Linked DNA regions of Homo sapiens: region 1 is linked to region 2. Evidence: promoter capture Hi-C in human tissues and cell types (Jung and others, 2019). All regions are on one chromosome and are shown on one strand. Each heading gives the region's core, a stretch centred on a gene start or on the middle of the fragment in contact. The rest is flanking DNA. Distances are from core to core; before and after follow the strand shown. Region 1 holds the start of ILF3 (interleukin enhancer binding factor 3). Region 2 holds the start of TYK2 (tyrosine kinase 2).

Region 1 (7,362 bases), core at 155-2,654, 270 kb before region 2:
ATTCCCATCCACAAATACCTGAGGAAAAGAGAGCTTAAAGTCCTAAATTTGAATCCTAACTTCGGATGGCACCTCGCGATTCCATGTGGACCACAAATATGCCATCACACCACTCATTTTAAAGAGAGCAAAATCTTGAAAAAGATTCAGCAGCAGTGAATTACCGGAGTCCAGAAAAAGAAACCACTGAAACCGACGCTTCGTTGCTGATCCATGTCACCTAAGCAGCAACTGGCAAACAATGTTGGAAATGTGGAGAAGAGATCCCTCATTCTCCTCAAATTTGGCCACTGAACTGGGGGAGGAGCATGCAGACCGCCGTACACCCCAAATAATTCATCCAGGCGGTGAATTAACTGGGGCAGAACCTCATGAGTAACCTCGAGAATCTCAATCGTTCAACTACTTGAGAAAATAAAGGTAGAAATGGGTTTTAAGCATCCACGTTTCGGGGCCCAGGCTTGCACCCAAGTAGATTGCCGGTCTAGAGAAGGCAAATACTAACAATCTGGAAAAACATTCAACAATGAAAACAAACTAACTAAAGAAAAAGCTGAAACCCTCTCAAGTTTTGACCCTGATCTGAGAGAGGCCTGGCTGACCAGAGATTTGGAAACCCGACGAACCCACAAAGGCTTCCTCAGCAATCCGCGTGGGAAGGGGCTTCCAAGGAGGGGGTCCGCCTCTCCGCGACCTGTGAGGACAAAGGAGGCGACTTTTCCCGCCTCGGGAACCTGGGACTCTCCTGGAATCGGGGGCGGGACCGGGACAAAGAGGAGGAGGGGGTAGGGAAGGAGTGAGGAAGGGGGGTCGCCCCGCCGCGGAACTCGGGACCCGAGGGGGTGTGTGCTCCAAGCACGTGCGCGCGTCCCCAGGACCCCCGCAACAGACAAAAGCCCAGCCGCGGGGAGGCGGCAGCCGGGGGCCCGGTGCGCGCGCACCCCCCCGCGCGTGGCGCCGCCGCCGGCCGAGGGGCCGCGTGCGGGGGGGAGCGGCTGCGCGCGCACCGAGTCCTCGCCGCCGCCGCAGCCGCCATTTTGTTTCCTCCGCACAATGGAAGAGAGTTAACGGCCGAGCGCGGGAGCGAGGCCGGCAAGGGAGGAACGGGCCAGGCGCCGGGATGAGGGAACCGGGCGGAGGCGGCGAGCGTGGGATCCCTCCAGCCTTGTCACCGCGAACCCTCAGTGGGGATCTCACTGAGGGCGGGCGGGGGGAGGGGCAGAGGCGGGAGCGGGCCCGGCCGCCGCCACATTGACGCTTACCTTGTCGGCGTCCCCTTCTTCGACCGCAGCCGCCGCCGCCGCCCTCCTGCCACAGCCCGCCGGGGTCTGCCCCCAAAAGCCACGCGGTGCGCGCCGGGCTGCTGGGTCCAACTGCAATGGCGAGAAGAGGAGGAGGAGGAGTCCGGACCGGGGGCGAGCGGGCGGGCGGGCAGGCGCGCGCCGGGGAGGTGCGGGAACACGTGACCGGCTGAAGCCCCGCCCCCTTTGACGCCGCGTTGCGCCTCGACGCAGGCCCAACCCAAATGGGAGGGAGGGGCGAAAAGAGATAAGGGGGGGGCTGAGGGGGTGGGCGTGAGTTGCACGTGGTGCAAGCGGGAGTGTTTGCGTGCGTAGTCACGTGACTTCGGCACCTTTCCCTCCGCTTTCGATAGGTTGCTCCATCATGTGACAATGGCGAATTTCGCGGTTTCCTTCGCCATCTGACAACTTTTGGCGCCTTCCCTTTGCCGTACTGGGAGTCCTCCATCACGTGACGAGGGCACGCTCTGGTTTTCGCTAAGGCGTTTTTTGAGCGGCCATTACCACGTGATGCAAGGCAAGCGTCAGAGGCGGAGCCTCCCTACGGCTGCGACATTTTGCGCCTGCGCGGCCGCCATCTTACGCCCGTCGCCCTGAGTACGTTAGCGGAAATGGCTCCGAGAGGCTTTGACGCATGTGTACCTTTTTAGTGGCGGTATCTCGGCCGGGGATTTTCGGGCTCCAGTGGAGGTGGCTATGCTCACCCCATCTCCCTTGAGAGGCACAGAAGGTTAGAGATGTGTGCGAGGAACGGCCAGGTCCAGCGTCTCCTCGTTGCTGCCCCTTGAGCCCGGGACCGGCGCCAATGCGCGCCCGGGTTCTTGGGTTCTTTCGTCCCGCAGACCTGCCTTGGTGTGGCGTCCCTGGGCCGTAGCTTCCGAAGGCTGCAGCCGACCTGGTCGGGGTCCTCTAGCCCGCCTTCCCCTTCCCCCATTGACAGATGGAGAAACTGAGGCCCAGGCCAAAAAATATCTCACTAGAGGGCTCACCGCCATTTCCTGGAAAAATTGGGGCTGGGACTCAACGGACGCTCGTCCAGCAGCAGCGCGGAGCTCCGAAGTAAAGGCGCCCGTGACCGAGTGCTTTGTCCTTACAAGCGTGGTGTTCTTGAATGCTTCCAGGCGCCTTATGAGGCCCCCGATGTACAATCTGTGCTTAACTAAACCCCACTGTCTTCCAGGGTCAGGTTGGCCATCCGCAGGCGTAGTTGCTAGGAAGGTTTGACAGATGTCCGCCTGTTGATTCAGACGTTCCCAGGATTTGGAGCAAGAAGAGCAAGGAAGGCCAGGCGCGGTGGCTCACGTTTGTAATCCCAGCACTTTGGGAGGCCGAGGCGGGCGGATCACGAGGTCAGGAGTTCGAGACCAGCCTGGCCAGCATGGTGAAACCCCGTCTCTACTAAAAATACAAAAGAAAATTAGCCGGGTGTGGTGGCACATGCCTGTAGTCCCACCTACTTGGGAGGCTGAGGCAGGAGAATTGTTTGACCTGGCAGGCGGAGGTTGCAGTGAGCCGAGATTGCGCCACTGCACTCCAGTCTGGGCGACAGAGCGAGACTCTGTCTCAGAAAAAAAAAAGAGCAAGGAGGTGTTGAAAATGGGTTTCCTGGCTGGGCGTGGTGGCTCACGCTTGTAATCCCAGCACTTTGGGAAGCTGAGGTGGGCGGATCACTTGAGGTCAGGAGTTTGAGACCAGCCTGGCCAACATGGTGAAACACCGTCTCCACTAAAAATAGAAAAATTAACTGGGTGTGGTGGAGGGCGCCTGTAATCCCAGCTAATCAGGAAGCTGAGACAGGAGGATCGCTTGAACCCAGGAGGCGGAGGTTGCAGTGAGCCGAGATTGCTCCATTGCACTCCAGCCTGGGCGATAGAGTGAGACTCAGCCTCAAAAAAAAAAAAAAAAAAAAATTCGCCAGGTGTGGTGGTGTGCGCCTATAATCCCAGCTACTCAGGAGGCAGAGGCACAAGAATGGCTTGAATCACTTGAACCTGGGAGGCAGAGGTTACAATGAGCCGAGATGGCACCACTGCACTCCAGCCTGGGCGACAGAGCGAGACTCCGACTTCCCATCTTAAAAAAAAAAAAAAAAAAAAAAAAGAAGTGTAAAGATGTGATTATGTGGCAGGGGGTAAGGGTTAAAAAGAAAACAAGAACAAGTTTTCCTCTGCTTAGCCAGCTTACTTCAAGGACAGTTATAACACTGAAAAGTCGAGGCCAAAGGAATGGGCTCCAGACAGCCTCCTCCGGAGCAAAGTTGAAAAGAAAAATTCCTTTACTGTCTCTCCTTTTCTGAACCATTAAATATGACTGTTTGCCAATGGTTGTATTTAGTAAGATTTGTAGACTCTGTTTTTCTTTTGACACAGCTGCAAGGCCAACAGCTGTGCAAAGCCACAAGTTATGCTAAGTCAGCAGTTATGCTATAGATTACATGACCTGTGACTGTATCATTAACTGCTTTTGTTTTGCTTCTGTAAGTTTGCCTATAAAAACCACACTCAGTCTTTGTTCAATGGTCAGCTTTTCAGATACAAATCCACTGAGCCGGTGTACATCTAAATAAATCCTCCTGTTTCCCGTGTCAGTCTCTCTGGTCCTTTGTTTCCTGCAACAATTACAGAAATGAGTGCCTAGCCGGGCATGGTGGCTCACGCCTGTAATCCCCACACTTTGGGAGGCCGAGGCTGGAGGATCCCTTAAGCCCAGGAGTTTGAGGCCAGCTTGAGCAACATGGCAAAACCCAGTCTCTACAAAAATTAGCTGAGCGTGATGGCCTGTGTCCATAGTTCCATCTACTTGGGAGGAGTAGGTGGGAGGATCACTTGAGCTGTGGAGGTCCAGGCTGCAGTGAGCCGTGATGGAGTCACTGCACTTTTCAGCCTGGATGGCACAGCTAGACCGTCTCAAAAAAGAAATGAGTGCATGCTGTACCCTCTGCTTTTCTATTTTATTTACATTTTACTGTGGATTTTTAATAGGTAGCATAGTCACATGATACGTCAAATGTGCCAAAGACGCCGGGCGCGGTGGCTCACGCCTGTAATTCCAGCACTTTGGGAGGCTGAAGTGGGCGGATCACGAGGTCAGGAGATCAAGACCATCCTGGCTAACACAGTGAAACCCCGTCTCTACTAAAAATACAAAAAAAAATTAGCCGGGCGTGGTGGTGGGCATCTGTAGTCTCAGCGACTCGGGAGGCTGAGGCAGGAGGATGGCATGAACTCGGGAGGCAGAGGTTGCAGTGAGCTGAGATCGTGCCATTGCACTCCAGTCTGGGCGACAGAGTGAGACTCCATCTCAAAAAAAAAAAAAAGTGCCAAAGACATGAGAGCACAAAGTCTTCCTCAGACATCCAGTTCCCTCCCTCTTAGAAGCCATTGTACAGTTTTGTTTTTTGTTTTTTGTTTTTGAAACGGAGTCTTGCTCTGTCTCCCAGGCTGGAGTGCAGTGGCACGATCTTGGCTCACTGCAAGCTCCGCCTCCTGGGTTCACGCCATTCTCCTGCCTCAGCCTCCCGAGTAGCTGAGACTACAGGCGCCCACCACCACGCCCGGCTAATGTTTTGTATTTTTAGTAGAGACTGGGTTTCACCGGGTGAGTCAGGATGGTCTCGATCTCCTGACCTCGTGATCCACCCGCCTCGGCCTCCCAAAGTGCTAGGATTATATGCGTGAGCCACCGCGACCAGCCATTGTACAGTTTTTTGTGTAACTACAGTAGAGTTTTATTTTCAGAGGTGCATAATCATATTCTTGTTTTTCACATAAATTGATAAGTTATTCTGCACCAGGCTTTTTAATTTCATTTCCTGTGCCTCAGATCTGTCTCACAAATAGAGCTGGAAATTGAAGAAAGGTTTGGTAAGATGATTGGGGCATGCACTAAGATAAAATTGGTTAAAATGCCAGGGCATGGTGGAACACACCTGTAGTCCCAGCTACTCAGGAGGCTGAGGTGGGAGGATCATTTGAGCCCAGGAGGTTGAGGCTGCAGTGAACTGAGATTGGGCCACTGCTCTCTAGCCTAGGCAACAGAAGCCCTGTCTCAAAAAAACAAAAACAAAACCAAAAAATTGGTTAAAGCTTTAAATTGTTGAAGGTCACTGTGATAATAACGAATGTTAATAACAAAGCCTAGACTGGCTTTTTTTCGGAACAGGTCAGTTTTAGTGACTTGCTTGAGCTAACAGCACTGCCAAATGGCAGAACGAGGATGGTTACTAGTTTTCTGACTCCCAACTCCAGAGAGCCTAAGGTTACTTAAAACGCTTTTGAAGATCTCATTCCGCTAAGGCGTTTCTTGCCCCAGGGACCCCAAACACAGTAAAGGGCGGATAGGGTCATGATGACAAGCACAGTCTTTGGATCAAACCCAAACCTCCTAGGGTTTGATTTGGAGGAGGACTGATTCGGAGTTAATTCAACATCAAGGGGTTGCTTCAGTACCTGGCATGGAGTTAAAGCTTCAAAAACAGTAATGGTTATGATTGTTACCTCTTGAACGGGTGCCCCATCCAACCAGAACTTCCTGAAAAATGTTGTCTTGGCCAGGCATGCTGGCTCATGCCTGTAATCCTACACTTTGGGAGGCTGAGGCAGGGGGATTGCTTGAGCCCAGAAGTTCAAGACCAGTCTGGGCAACATAGTGAGACCCCATCTCTATGTTTTTTATCTATCTATCTATTTATTTATTTTTGAGATGGAGTCTCGTTCTGTAGTCCCAGCTAGGGTGCAGTGATAACAATCTCAGCTTACTGCAACCTCCAATTCCCGAGTTTAAGCAATTCTGCCTTAGCCTCCCAAGTCACTGGGATTGCAGGCGTACACCACCATGGTCAGCTAATTGTTGTATTTTTAGTAGAGACTGGGTTTTGCCATGTTGGCCAGGCTGGTCTCAAACTCCTGACCTCAAGTTATCCACCCACCTTGGCTTCCCAAAGTGCTGGGATTACAGGCATGAGCTACTGCACCCAGCCCCATCTCTACATTAAAAAAAAAAAAAGTTTTCAAGAATAAAAACAAAAAGAAGGCTGGGGGCAGTGGCTCATACTTGTAATCCTAGCACATTGGGAGGCCGAGATTGGTGGATCACTTGAGGTCAGGAGTTCAAGACCACCCTGGCCAACATGGTGAAACTCTGTCTTTACTAAAAGTACAAAAAGTAGCTGGGCATGATGGCTGGCATCTGTAATTCCAGCTACTCGGGAGGCTGAGGCACGAGAATCGCTTGAACCTGGGAGGTGGAGGTTGCAGTGAGCCGAGATCAAGCCACTACAGTCCAGCCTGGGTGACAGGGAGACTGTGTCTAAAAAAAAAAAGAAAGGGCCAGGTGTGGTGGTTCACCCTCTAATCCTAGCACTTTGGGAGGCCGAGGCGGGTGGATCACTTGAGGTCAGGAGTTCGAGACCAGCCTGGCCAACATGGTGAAACCCCATCTCTCCTTAAAATATAAAAAATTAGCTGGGCGTGGTGGTACGCACCTGTAATCCCAGCTACTCGGGAGGCTGAGGCAGGAGAATCACTTGAACCCAGGAAGCGGAGGTTGCAGTGAGCTGAGATTGCACCATTGCACTCCAGACTGGGGGACAAGAGTGAGACTTCGTCTCAAAAAAAAAAAAAAAGGAAAAAGAAAAAAATTTTTTGAAGTAAAAAGTTTTCAGCCCAACTTTCCAATAAACCCCATCCATCAGGTTCCTAGTCCCTGGTCACCGTAAAGGATGGAAGACACAAGATGCCATCTGCCCTGTCTTGCTGAACTGCTACCCTGACCCGACCTCGCACCTCTGCCCTTGTCCTTCCACCACTCAGTGGTCACAAACCCTGTATACAACACCATTCTCTCCTCCTTGCCTTAGTGACATCATCTGTCATCTGGCTATTCCTTCTCTCTTCCCTCCCTCCCACTCATTGGTTGAAGATTGAGGTCATCCCCCTCTTGTAATCTGTCAGTCTAGACAGGTCCTGTCACTCTCAGTGACTCTGCTGTCCTTACAGCCTCTCTATTCATTGTCTTCCTCATCTTGAAAGATTCCACCCACTCTCCCAATCACACCCAGTTA
Region 2 (6,723 bases), core at 2,291-4,790:
CAGGTTCAAGTGATTCACCTGCCTCAGCTTCCCAAGTAGCTGGGATTATAGGCACCCACCAACACACCCGGCTAATTTTTGTATTTTTAGTAGAGACGGGGTTGGTGGAAGCCCATTTCTATAAAAAATACACACACACAAAAGTTAGCCAGGCGGCTGGGCGCGGTGGCTCACTTCTGTAATCCCAGCACTTTGGGAGGCCGAGGCGTGAGGATCATGAGGTCAGGAGATTGAGGCCATCCTGGCCAACATGGTGAAACCCCATCTCTACTAAAAAATACAAAAAAATTAGCTGGGTGTGGTGGCACACGCCTGTAATCCCAGCTTCTCTGGAGGCTGAGGCAGAAGAATCGCTAGAACCTGGGAGGCAGGGATTACAGTGAGCCGAGATCGTGCCACTGCACTTCAGCCTAGCAACAGAGCAAGACTCCGCCTCAAAAAAAAAAAAGTTACCCAGGCATCGTGATGCACATCTGTAGTCCCAGCTACTCAGGAGGCTGAGGTGGAAGATTGTGAATGGTGAATCTGGGAAGTTGAGACTGCAGTGAATTGAGATCACAGCACTGCACTCCAGCCTGGGCAACAGAGCGAGATTCTTGTCTCAAAAAAAAAAAAAAAAAAAAAAAAAAGAAAGAAAGAAAGAAGAGAAACCCAGCTGGGCGCGGTGGCTCACATCTGTAATCCCAGCACTTTGGGAGGCCAAGGCGGGTGGATCACCTGAGGTCAGGAGCTCGAGACCAGTATGGCCAACCTGGCCAAACCCTGTCTCTATTAAAAATACAAAAATTAGCCAGGCGTGGTGGTGCACGCCTGTAATCCCAGCTACCGGGGATGCTGACGCAGGAGAATTGCTTGAACCTGAGAGGCAGAGGTTGCAGTGAGCCAAGATTGCGCCACTGCACTCCAGCCTGGGCAACAGAGCAAGACTCTGTCTCTTTAAAAAAAAAAAAAAAGAAAGAAACTTCCCATGAAATGTCAGGTTGCAATAAGGACTCTGAAGAAAATACAGCAGAGCCCAGGAGGTCAAGTTGCCCAGGCTGGAGTGCAGTGGTGTGATCACGGCTCACTGTAGCCTCAACCTCCTGGGCTCAAGCAATCCTCCCACCTCAGCCTTCGGAGTAGCTGGGACTAACTAATTTTTTTTCCCCCCGAGATGGAGTCTCACTCTGTAGCCCAAGCTGGAGTGCAGTGGTGGGATCTCAGCCCACTGCAACCTCCACCTCCTGGGCTCAAGCGATTCTCATACTTCAGCCTTAGACTAATTTTTTTTATTTTGGGTAGAGATGGGGTCTTGCTATATTGCCCAGGTTGGTCTTGAACTGGGCCCAGACAGTACTCCTTCTTTAGCTCCCTGAAGTGCTAGGTTTATAGGGATGAGCCACTGCATCCAGCCAGGACAAGTCTCTATCAGCATTTTATTTTATTTTATTTTATTTTATTTTTGAGACAGAGTCTCACTCTGGCGCCCAGGCTGGAGTGCAGTGGCGCAATCTCGGCTCACTGCAAGCTCCGCCTCCCCGGTTCACGCCATTCTCCTGCCTCAGGCTGCCACTACGCCCAGCTAATTGTTTGTATTTTTAGTAGAGACGGGGTTTCACCGCCTTAGCCAGGATGGTCTCGATTTCCTGACCTCATGATCCGCCCACCTCGGCCTCCCAAAGTGCTGGGATTACAGGCGTGAGCCACTGTGCCCGGCCTCTATCAGCATTTTCTTTCTTTTTCTTTTTCTTTTTTTTTTTTTGAGACAGAGTTTAGCTCTTGTTGCCCAGGCTGAAGGGCAATGGTGTGATCTCGGCTCACTGCAACTTCTGCCTCCCAAGTTCAAGCGATTCTCCTGCCTCAGCCTCCTGAATAGCTGGGATTACAGGTGCCCACCACCATGCCCAGCTAATTTTTGCATTTTTAGTAGAGACAGGGTTTCACCATGTTGGCCAGTCTGGTCTTGAACTCCTGACCTCAGGTGATCCGCCCGCCTCCACCTCCCAAAGTGCTGGGATTACAGGTGTGAAAGAGACCATTCCCGATCTCTTTCAGCATTTTCATACTGAATGTCCACAGCTGCCCTGTGAGGAGGCTTTTTACCCATATTTTCTGACTCAGAGAGAAGCAGCCACATGTCCCTTGGCCATGGCAGTTAAGACCAACTCCATGGAGCTGGGTGTCTTAGCTCACATCTGTAATCCCAGCACTTTGGAAAGCCAAGGCAGGATGATTGCTTGAGGCCAGAAGTTCAAGACCAGCCTGGGCAACATAGCCAGACCCCATCTCTACAAAAATTTAAAAATTAGCCACAAAATTTAAAAATTAACAACAAAAGGGCCGGGTGCGGTGGCTCACGCCTGTAATCCCAGCGCTTTGGGAGGGTGGATCACGAGGTCAGGAGTTCGAGACCAGCCTGGCCAAGATGGTGAAATCCCATCTCTACTAAAAATACAAAAATTAGCCGGGCGTGGTGGCGGGCGCCTGTTGTCCCAGCTACCCAGGAGGCTGAGGCAGGAGAATCGCTTGAATCCGGGAGTCTGAGGTTGCAGTGAGCCGAGATCGCAGCATTGCACTCCAGCCTGGGCGACAAGAGCGAAACTCCATCTTAAAAAAAAAAAAAAAAAAAAGTGGAAGATGAGGAAGTTGATCAGACATCAAGGATGAGCGGATGACTTAATAGGCTTCTTTGCTAAGACTTGGCTGGGCAGGTGAAAGACAAAGTCGAGGAGTGGTTATGGTGTGGCACAGAAGAAGGGTCAGAGGACGGTCTTTGTTACCTCTTCATGCCTGAGTTTCTTCCTCTGTGAAATGGGGATAATAAGAGCCGCCATACAGGGAATTGCTGCTAGGATCAAATGAGATAATGTATGTGAAACGCTCTGGCTGTAGGCTTCTCAGCAAATGGGCACGACTTGCGGAGTGGGGATTTGAATTCACGTCTGGCGGGATGTCCAAGCTGCTACCCTGACCGCTAGGGAGCTTCAGAGGACAGGGCTGCAGGTGATCAGGAAGAGGACTGGGGCAGGTGGGCGAGGAATGCCTCCCAGGAGTGAAGGAGGGGGAATTCTAGTCAGCAGGATGGAGTCGGCCAGGTAGAAACGAGGGAAAGGAGACAGGACCGGATGGAACGGGGAAGCCAAAGGGCAGGGCGTCGGAGGGTTGAATGGTGGCCGGTGCAGCTTTGAACACCGAGGTGAGGACATGCAGCTGTGTCCTAGGGTCAGGACCGTACACGCCTGACCCAATTCCACAGCACGGAGGGGAACTCCAGGATCCGGCCGCGTTGCCCACACACTTCGCTCTCCCTCCCGCCTCTCGCAAGCCCCTCCCCCGTCTCCGTCCACCGAGTGCCAGCCAATAGCAGAAGCGACAGCGCATCTGGGTGCCGACTCAGCCAATCGCGGCTGAGTGACGAATGAGCCCCAGGACCAATGAGAGTGCCGCCACCATGGCAAAAAAAAAAAAATCCAATGGTGACGAGCAGGGAGAACAGAGCAGCTGCCAATGGGCGTGTGCGTTTCAGGCGGCCAATGGGAGGAGGCGTCTCGGCGGGGGACAAGCAGTAGCTACCCGCGGGAGCGGGGAGGGGTCCGGGTTCGAGCTTGTGTTCCCCCGGAAGGGTGAGTCTGGACGCGGGCGCGGAAGGAGCGCGGCCGGAGGTCCTCAGGAAGAAGCCGCGGGGACTGGCTGCGCTTGACAGGCTGCACTTGGATGGGAGCACCTGGTGCCTCGGGACTGCTCCGATGCCCGGTGGGTGCACATCCCAGTTCCCGCCGTTGCCGGCCGGGTTTAGAGGTTTTGGGGGGAGGACATGGGGGCGTGCAGCCTTCCCAGTTGCAAACTTCACTCCGACCCTGTCTTCAAAGCTGGGTCTGGGTCCAGTGGGGACGAGAAAGGAGGAAGGAGGAAGTAGGCTCCGCGAAAGCCCCATCCCCGGGATCTCATCTATAACATGAATAGGTATTAATGGCAAAGGCTAATTAAGCGCTTACTGTATACCAGGCACTTTCTCTGCCTCCTCGCGTTAAATCCTCCCAGCAGCCTTTTGAGGTAGACACTGTTACATGCCCATTTTCCAGATGAGGAAACCAGCAACATGGGTGGAAGTGACAGCCCCTCCACTTCCATACTGGCGCCCTCAGGAGGCTCAGGCCCTGGATTGGGGGGATGGAGCTGGACATAAACTCTCCTAGGCTTTGGGGAGTCAACAGGGACTGAGGTCACTCATGGGGGTAAATGTGGGAGAGGAGAATTGTGGCCTGAAAGAGGCCATCACCACGATGAAACTAATAACAATTATGTTATTCTTGTTTTGGTCATATTTGTTCTTTTTGTGTGTGCCTGAATCAGGGTCTGTGCTGAATGTGTAATATGCGGAACTATATTGAAACATTACAACCATCTTTTGATGGCAACACCCTGAGGACCTCCCTTTTCCAGATGGGGAAACTGAGGCCCAGAATTGCTAAGTGGCTTGCTTGAGTTGACACAGGGAGCTCCAGGACTCACCCTCAGGTATGTTTGACCACATCTGCCTGTCTGGTTATTTTGGGGAGGTGTGTTAAGAGCAGATTTTTATTTTACTTTTTATTTATTTATTTATTTATTTATTTATTTATTTATTGTATTTTAGTAGAGATGGGGTTTCACCATGTTGGTCAAGATGGTCTCAATCTCCAGACCTCGTGATCTGTCCGCCTTGGCCTCCCAAAGTGCTGGGATTACAGTCATGAGCCACCGCGCCTGGCCCTTTTTATATATTTTTATTACTTATTTATTTATTTATTTATTTATATTTTTAGAGTCAGGGTCTCACTCTGTCACCCAGGCTGGAATGCAGTGGTGCGATCACTGCTCACTGCAGCCTCCAACTCCTGGGCTCAGGAGATCCTCCCACTTCAGCCTCCCGAGTAGCTTGGAGTACAGATGTGCACCCCCACGCCTGGCTAAATTTTAAAAATTTCTTGTAGAGGCCGGGCACAGTGGCTCACGCCTGTAATCCCAGCACTTTGGGAGGCCGAGGCGGGTGGATCACCTGAGGTCAGAGGTTCAAGACCAGCCTGGCCAACATGGCAAAACCCTGTCTCTACTAAAAATACAAAAATTAGCCCGGTGTGGTGGCAGGCGCCAGCTACTCAGGAGGCTGAGGCAGGAGAATCACTTAAACCCAGGAGGCAGAGGTTGTGGTGAGCAAGATTGTACCATTGCACTCCAGCCTGGGCAACAAGAGTGAAACTCTGTCTCAAAAATAAGATAAGATAAGATAAGATAAGATAAGATAAGATAAGATAAGATATAAAATAAAACGTCTTGTAGAAACAGGGTCTTGCTATATGGCCTAGGCTGGTCTCGAGCTCCTGGGCTCAAGCAATCCTCTTGCCTCAACATCCCAAAGTCCTGGGATTAGAGGCGTGAGCCACTGTACCTGGCCAGAGCAGATTTTTATATCTGTGTCAATTTGTGGAAAGAGAGGAGGGTTCAGTGTTATTGTTGATGAGAGATCTAGGTGGGGATGCATACCCCAACCCTGTCCAATAAATGTGGAAAACGAGACTCAGAGAGGGAATCGGGTCTCTAATGTCATGCCAAGATGGGAGCCCAGAATCTTCCCCTCAGGCCTTAGCTGGGGTGGGTGGAAGGTTGAAGAGCTAACAGGGGTCTCTGGGCTGAGACTTGGGAGCTGACAGATTGTCCCCTTTCCAGCTGAGCCACCTGCCGGGAGCATGCCTCTGCGCCACTGGGGGATGGCCAGGGGCAGTAAGCCCGTTGGGGATGGAGCCCAGCCCATGGCTGCCATGGGAGGCCTGAAGGTGCTTCTGCACTGGGCTGGTCCAGGCGGCGGGGAGCCCTGGGTCACTTTCAGTGAGTCATCGCTGACAGCTGAGGAAGTCTGCATCCACATTGCACATAAAGTTGGTGAGTCTGGGGCGTTGGCACCATGGGGACTGGGGTGGGTGTGCAAGCAGCAGCTGGGCCCCATCCATCCGTCTATCCACCCACCCACCCATCCACCCACCCATCCACCCACTCATCCATCCATCCATCCATCCACCCATCCACCCACCCATCCACCCTCCCAACCACCCATCCATCCACCCACCCACCCATCCATCCACCCATGCATCCATCCATCCTCCCATCCACCCATCCACCCACCCATTCACCCACCCATTCACCCATCCACCCACCCTTTCACCCATCCACCCATCCACCCATTCATCCACCCACCCACCCACCCATCCATCCACCCACGCATCCATCCACCCACCCACCCACCCATCCATCCACCCACGCATCCATCCATACATCCACCCACCCACTCATCCATCCACCCACCTATCCACCTATCCATCCACCTACTCACCCACCCATCCACCCACCTATCCACCCACCCACCCATCCACCCATCCATCCACCCACCCATTCATCCATCTATCCATCCATCCACCCATCGATCCATCCATACCCACCCATTCATCCATCCACCCATCCATCCACCCACCCATCCACCCATCCATCCACCCATCCATCCATTCATCCATCCATCCATCCACCCACCCACCCATCCATCCACCCACCCACCCATCCATCCATCCATCCATCCACCCACCCACTCACCCACTCACCCACCTATCCATGCATCCATCCATCCACCCACCCATCCATCCTCCCACCCATTCATCCATCTATCCATCCATCCATCCATCCATCCATCCATCCATCCATCCACCCACCCACCCA

What was found. Contacts are between HindIII fragments. The study calls those that stand out against the background at their distance.
Region 1: the fragment with the promoter of ILF3 here is called in contact with the fragment with the promoter of TYK2 in region 2 in 1 of the 25 tissues and cell types used here (lymphoblastoid cells).

The regions. Positions count from the first base shown.
Region 1 is chr19:10,648,388-10,655,749 of GRCh38, reverse strand. ILF3 (interleukin enhancer binding factor 3) reads right to left here and starts at 1,404. Exons shown (of 20, transcript NM_017620.3): 1 at 1,263-1,404. It overlaps ILF3-DT (ILF3 divergent transcript), which reads left to right and starts at 1,878. Exons shown (of 1, transcript NR_024333.1): 1 at 1,878-3,888. RefSeq lists silencers at 1,077-1,236, 1,317-1,556 and enhancers at 1,647-2,116, 2,357-2,526, 2,392-2,893, 2,894-3,396. The HindIII fragment of the contact is 14,146 bases long and covers 1-5,576 here.
Region 2 is chr19:10,377,389-10,384,111 of GRCh38, reverse strand. It overlaps TYK2 (tyrosine kinase 2), which reads left to right and starts at 3,540. Exons shown (of 25, transcript NM_003331.5): 1 at 3,540-3,732; 2 at 4,333-4,497; 3 at 5,686-5,898. The coding sequence starts at 5,706. RefSeq lists enhancers at 2,911-3,574, 3,483-3,642. The HindIII fragment of the contact is 20,387 bases long and covers 1-6,723 here.